Regions from separate parts of the Homo sapiens genome. Here region 2 is linked to region 1. The links are contacts of gene promoters, found by promoter capture Hi-C in blood cells and fetal thymus (Javierre and others, 2016). All regions are on one chromosome and are shown on one strand. Each heading gives the region's core, a stretch centred on a gene start or on the middle of the fragment in contact. The rest is flanking DNA. Distances are from core to core; before and after follow the strand shown. Region 1 holds the start of KCTD10 (potassium channel tetramerization domain containing 10). Region 2 overlaps ANKRD13A (ankyrin repeat domain 13A).

Region 1 (3,001 bases), core at 28-2,527:
GCCCTCTGACTCCCAACTCCTTTGCCCCTTTCATTACACAGTCCAAATCAAGAAATCATTAGTCTAATCCCTTGCAGGGCTTGTTAAAACCGATAGATGGGCTCCACCCCAAGAATGTCTGATTCAGTAGTCTCTGACAGGGCTTGAAATTTCAGCCATTTTGAATAAGTTACCAGGTGTTGCTGCTGGTGGGACCAGAGTTTGAGAACCACTGGTTTATGCTGCCTTCTTCCCATCCGCTGGTCCTTATTTTGCACAAAATGGAGCGGACTAGTCAACGTCAGCTACAGGATAACTGACTTTTCTTCAGCAGCGTCACTGGGACTGATTTTCCCTTAAGACTGCACTTTCCAGGGACGTGACAAACAAGCAAGCAAGTAGAAAGAAGATCTGGGCCAATCTTTGGTCATCTCTACCCAGGGACAATGAGCTACTCAGGGAACAGACCCTTGAGGATCCCAAGCAGACAAACCCCACAGCTGAGAGACAGATCTTGAAACATCCTCCGCTCCTTAGGCGTGGTCACCTCTGGCCTCAATGGAAGTTACAGATAGGTACCCAGGCGCCAGCTGAGGCACTGAACTCCGTGGCGCAGGTATCCTAACCTCAGGCCCCTGGCATCTCTCCCCAGGATTCCAAGCACTGAACGCACATCAGCCTGCTGGGCTCTCTCGATTTCTTTCCCTCACTGGGCCGTGTGTTCAGACGCACCTGGGAGCCCCTTCCCCACTTCCTGGAAACTCAGCGACTCCAGCCACAACCTCCAAAACGCCAAACGCTCCGCCCCAAGGAATCCTACCTCACCTTCTCATAACCTGCCCATTCATTCTCCTTCATAATCCTCCAAATCCTCATTTTCCACCCCCAAATGTCCGTTTTCAATTGATATCTCTTTGTTCTCCTCGCAATCACCAACTCCCATCTCCAACCAGCACTCAGGACTCACTTGGAGACACCCCTTCCTCACGCACACACGTATCTACTCCGCAAGCCCAAATGTGCTTCCCGGATTCCTAACCGCCAGGGAGCCTCCCTACCACCACCCCCGCCCCTAATTCTCCACCCAAAGCCCTTCCCCCACCCCGGGCCTTTCCCCTAACCAATCCCCCAAATGCCTCTCCACTATCGTGACTGCCCCTCATCACACCCCCTCCTCTCGGTCCCTTCTTATACTCTGCTGCTGCCCAGCTCCCTCGGCCGCCCTCAACCCCTAGTCCATGGGCACCGCCCTCCCTACCATGAAAAGTCGGAGGACGCAGGAGTCTCCAAACCCGGACTGAGAGAGGCAGGAAACACCCAGCTCACGCCAGCCGGGGGCGGAGGCGGGGCCGGAGCGATAACTTCCGCTGTCCGCACCCCACTTCCGCCCCGCAGAGGGCAACGTCTTAAGCCGTCCGTTGTGCGCCTAGGGGCCAGTTTTCTTTCCAGCCTCCCCGGCCGGAGTGGGTTCCAGCTTTTCTCGGCTGGGGAGGGCATTTATCCCACCTCCGCTATTTCAGCTGCCAGAGGGGAGGCAAGGTGTGGGGAAGTTTTCCTTCCCGGGCGAAGAAGCTCTGCGGAACTGTCATTTTCCGGAACTGGATGCTTGCTTCCTGGCGGGGTTCTGAAAGCGAACACCGCGGGGCAAGATGGCGGTAGTGCGTCGGCTGCTGCCCCGGGTCTGGCAGAACTCGGGTGTTTTGGGCTGAGACAGTGGCAGCTGCGGCCCCGACCCCAAGTGCGGGGACCTCCGGCGAATAAAGGTCGGCCTGCGGGTAGGCCGGTAGGGCCTGCGGTCCGGCCTGCGGGAGAACTGGGTCGTCAGTCCTCCGAGTGGTGGGGCTGGGGACTTTGAGGGAGTTGGCTCTAGGGCACAGTCCCTGCCTGGCCAGGTCGGAGGAACAAGTGCTGGGATCTGGCGTGTGTGCTCCAGGGGCTCTTTCCGCGGCCCTTTCCACCTCTTTTCACTTTGGGGACGGTAGGCCTTTATAAACGGACTAATGCTGGGTGATTTGTTCCTGTGGTTGTTGATGCCGAGGAAAGACTCTGGGCCCCAGGACTCACCTAAACTGGAGTTCGAATACTGTTCGCTCGCTGTGTGACCTTGGGTGAGTTCCCTCACCTCTCTGAGCCTCAGTTTCCTTCTGTGTAAATGGAGTAATTAGCAGGTTTCACAGAGGGTGTGAATACGTTTTAGTACCGTGCCTGACACCTAGTTCTGAATAAAGAAAAACTTGATCGTAATTTAACTCCAGCTTAGCCCCCACAGGCAATCTTGCACTCTCAACTTCTCTTTGCTTGGCCATTCTGTGAACGGGGGAGCCCTGGATCTTGTTTGTTTTACTTAGTGATAAATAACTGTTTTGGATATACATGGATTCAGATTCAAAAGCATCCACCTTAGATAGGCTGTAGCTTTCAATAAATAGTAGCTGTTAATATGAATAGTCTCTTTAAGTCGTGTTTCCTATTCTTTAAATAAAAATTAGATTATTGAGGCTGGCCACGGTGGCTCACGCCTGTAATCCTAGCACTTTGGGAGGCCGAGGCGGGCGGATCACCTGAGGTCAGAAGTTCAAGACCAGCGTGGCCAACATGGTGAAACCGCATCTCTACTAAAAATACAAAAATTAGCCGGGCGTGGTGGCGGGCGCCTTTAATCCCAGCGACTTGGGAGGCTGAAGCAGGAGAATCACTTGAACCTGGGAGGCGGAGGTTGCAGTGAGCAGAGTTCGCGCCGCTGCACTCCAGCCTGGGCAACAAAGTGAGACTCCGTCTCAAAAAAACAAAGATTATCGAGAACTGATAGAGCTGTTGAAAAGACAAGTTGGTTAAATAATCTGTGCAGTGTCTGATACACCGTCTGCCCAGAACAAGTGGTGGTGGTCATTAAACCTGGTGGCCCAGCTTTTCCTACTGCACAGGGACAATCCTCTTGGCTTAGTCAGCAGTTGGTATTTATGATGCTTCAGCTTTGGAAATATAGAGGTAAGACAAGAGTCTGAATCCTGCCTCTTAGTTA
Region 2 (2,964 bases), core at 75-2,574, 560 kb after region 1:
GGTTCTTGCTGCCATCGTTTCCTTACCAGAATGGCACCAATTTCTCCTAAGACGTATTCATGTCTATCACATTTGTCTTTGCCAGGAACTTTCAGGACCAGCTTCGAATGGAGGGATCAGCCAGACAAACACCTATGACGCCCAGTATGAGAGGTGATTGACTGACGTGACTCTGGAATAAACCAGGGTGAACACAGGCCTGGACACAGGCGAGCAGACGCGTGGCACTGTGCATTTGGTCCTCAGGCAGATGTACGGTGCCACAAACTGGCAGGAAAGACTAGAAAAAGTAGGCCAGGAGCGGTGGCTCACGCCTATAATCCCAGCATTTTGGGAGGCCGAGGCAGGCGGATCACGAGGTCAGAAGATTGAGACCATCCTGGCTAACACGGTGAAACCCTGTCTCTCCTAAAAAAAATACAAAAAATTAGCCGGGCATGGTGCCAGGCACCTGTAGTCTCAGCTACTCGGGAGGCTGAGGCAGGAGAATGGCAAACCCAGGAGGCGGAGCTTGCAGTGAGCCGAGATCGCGCCACTGCACTCCAGCCTGGGCGATAGAGCGAGACTCCGTCTCAAAAAAAAAAAAGACTAAAGTGTTGGCTCTCTTGCTTCCTCTTGTGGCAGTTACTTATAATAACTCTAGACTCTTGATAGCAAGTTTCCAGGAATGGGTGATAGAATTGCTGACTGGTTCACAGGTCAGTGCCATTGGGGGAAACGTACTGAGTCAGTTTTTTCTGATTGGTTTGATCTTCTATGAATGATGTATGATCACAGGGCCTAGATGTCCTCAGTGGGAAGTTTATATAATTGTAAAGATAAGGAAGTTTGGAGGAACAGCTCCAGAGATTACGGGAAAAACCGCGAGGATTCATTTTACGAAGACTTATACTTAAGGTGTCTATGAGAGCCTGTTGATGAAGAACCTGAGTTTTGCTTTAAAACAGATCCAAGTTCAATTCCCAGCCCTATCACTTACTGGTTGGGTGGTCTTGGGCAAGATTGTGGGGTTTCTCACCCGTATACAACACCTACACCGCCAGTTATGTGGGATTAATTGGCATCATGCATATTAAATGCCTGGCACAGTGTGCCCTTGGTAAGCGGTTAAGAAATGTAGTTACTGCTGCCACCATGATGATGATAGTAGTGACTCTCCCTTTTTATCTGTTTTCCAACCCAGGGCCATCCAGGAGAGCCTCCTCACCAGCACAGAAGGCCTGTGCCCCAGCGCCCTGAGCGAGACAAGCCGTTTTGATAATGACTTGCAGCTAGCCATGGAGCTCTCTGCCAAAGAGCTGGAGGAATGGGAGCTCCGGCTCCAGGAGGAAGAGGCTGAGCTCCAGCAAGTCTTACAGCTGTCACTCACTGACAAATAGACCTTTCAGCCTGTGAGCCTCTGCACAAAGCAGAGGCTGTGGGCTGTCACAGATGCTGTGTCAACCAGGGCCCTAGGGCTAAGGGCCTGCACCTTGCGTGCATGCAGCAGGCAACAACTGCCCCTTCTTTATGCAGAGGTGCAGAACCAGGGACTCCTGGGCCCATCCAGGCTGCTCCCTGGGGTGGAGAAGGGACCAGGGATTGCAGGCCCCATCTCCAGGCTAAGGGGAGGAGAGCATCATCACTTTCCATTAGCTGTATTGGCTTGCAGGTCACATTTTTACTACCAGCTTTAGACAAAACCCCAATCCCCGCAGGTTTGTAGATAAATTTTTATCAAGGAGTGATAACAAGACAAGTTATTGCAGAGTCAGGGTGCTTTTATATATAAGAGCAGCAGCCGCCTTTGTAAAGTGTGATCTATGAGAATTGGAGACACTTCTTTACTGTTCACCAAAGAAATGGGTAATCTGTGCTGATCTCCTTATTTTTACCTTTTTACAGGGTTTCTAGGACATTGTCATTATTCTTCCTCCATCTATCTGATTCCATTCCTTCCACACCCAGCTAAAGTTAGAGGAGATACATATAGAATCTATTTTAGATTATTGTTAACTATTTGCATCAAATTAAGATACACAAATGGCCATGGATGTTGCCTTAGCCTTAAACATTACTAATAGTTTCACATCACCTCACTGCACGCATCGAAGGATCTGATTTGAATTTGTAAAGGCAATTCTTTTGAGAGCAGGATTCTCCAGGCTAAATCAAAGGCAGCTAATCCTGTCCCTGAAGGAGCAGCTAGGGGAACCTGAGGCTTGTTCTTGAAGTGGGCAAGCTGGCCAAAATATTGGAACACACAGAACCAAACCAGGTGTGTTCTACACCTGCATGAGTGAAGGATTTCCACGTAGACACCTAGGAAGAGCCCGCATGCCCTAGACTCACTCCAGAGGAAGGATTGATTTGCAACCAGAAAGGGAGCTGAAAACCACGGAGCTCCATGGCTCTTCATTCAAAAGGGAAAATAATGATTCCACGTTGCTTTTTAGAGTTCAAATCAACATCTTTCTGGATAAATCTATTTTTTAACAATCTTTTTATTATTTGTAAAAGATATAAAAACAACTCCCATCAGTAGCAATACAAGGTTATACATTTTAACCAGATTTTCTCAGGCCTTTTTTGGATACCTTTAGTAGTTAACTCTCTTTTGTCAAACCCTCTTGTATATAACCATCGCACAACATACAGAACCCTGGGGAATACAGCCAAGGGCACTGCTCACTGTGGCCCGTGTATTCATTCCCACAGGCTGCACTGAAATAACCTGGTAAACAACACCCTCCTCCATTTTGCGTCTATTTCTTCTATTGTGCTTCTTTGGGGATAGGAAGAGAAACATAACTACTGTTCCAGGTAACGTCTGTATCATACAGTTAGTGTTGCCAGTGAAACGTTCCCAGATACAAAGAATTGTGCTTTTAATTCCATTTCACAATCTGTTTTGTTTTTTTTTTTTGTCATTGTCTGACCAAAATTCCTTCTGCACATGAGGCCAGTATAGGCAACGTCACATTT

What was found. The method cuts DNA at HindIII sites, captures the fragments that hold promoters and counts their contacts. A CHiCAGO score of 5 or more calls a contact.
Region 2: a fragment that was not itself captured here is called in contact with the fragment with the promoter of KCTD10 in region 1 in 1 of 17 cell types (neutrophils); the score reaches 6.6 in neutrophils.

Annotation. Positions count from the first base shown.
Region 1 is chr12:109,476,023-109,479,023 of GRCh38, forward strand. It overlaps KCTD10 (potassium channel tetramerization domain containing 10), which reads right to left and starts at 1,278. Exons shown (of 7, transcript NM_031954.5): 1 at 1,238-1,278. The coding sequence starts at 1,240. UBE3B (ubiquitin protein ligase E3B) reads left to right here and starts at 1,612. Exons shown (of 28, transcript NM_130466.4): 1 at 1,612-2,087. RefSeq lists enhancers at 191-926, 1,435-1,524. The HindIII fragment of the contact is 6,971 bases long and covers 1-3,001 here.
Region 2 is chr12:110,036,176-110,039,139 of GRCh38, forward strand. ANKRD13A (ankyrin repeat domain 13A) reads left to right here. Exons shown (of 15, transcript NM_033121.2): 14 at 86-153; 15 at 1,184-2,964. The coding sequence ends at 1,379. Among named protein-coding and RNA genes, the nearest start is that of C12orf76, 11 kb to the right of the region's middle. The HindIII fragment of the contact is 5,067 bases long and covers 1-2,964 here.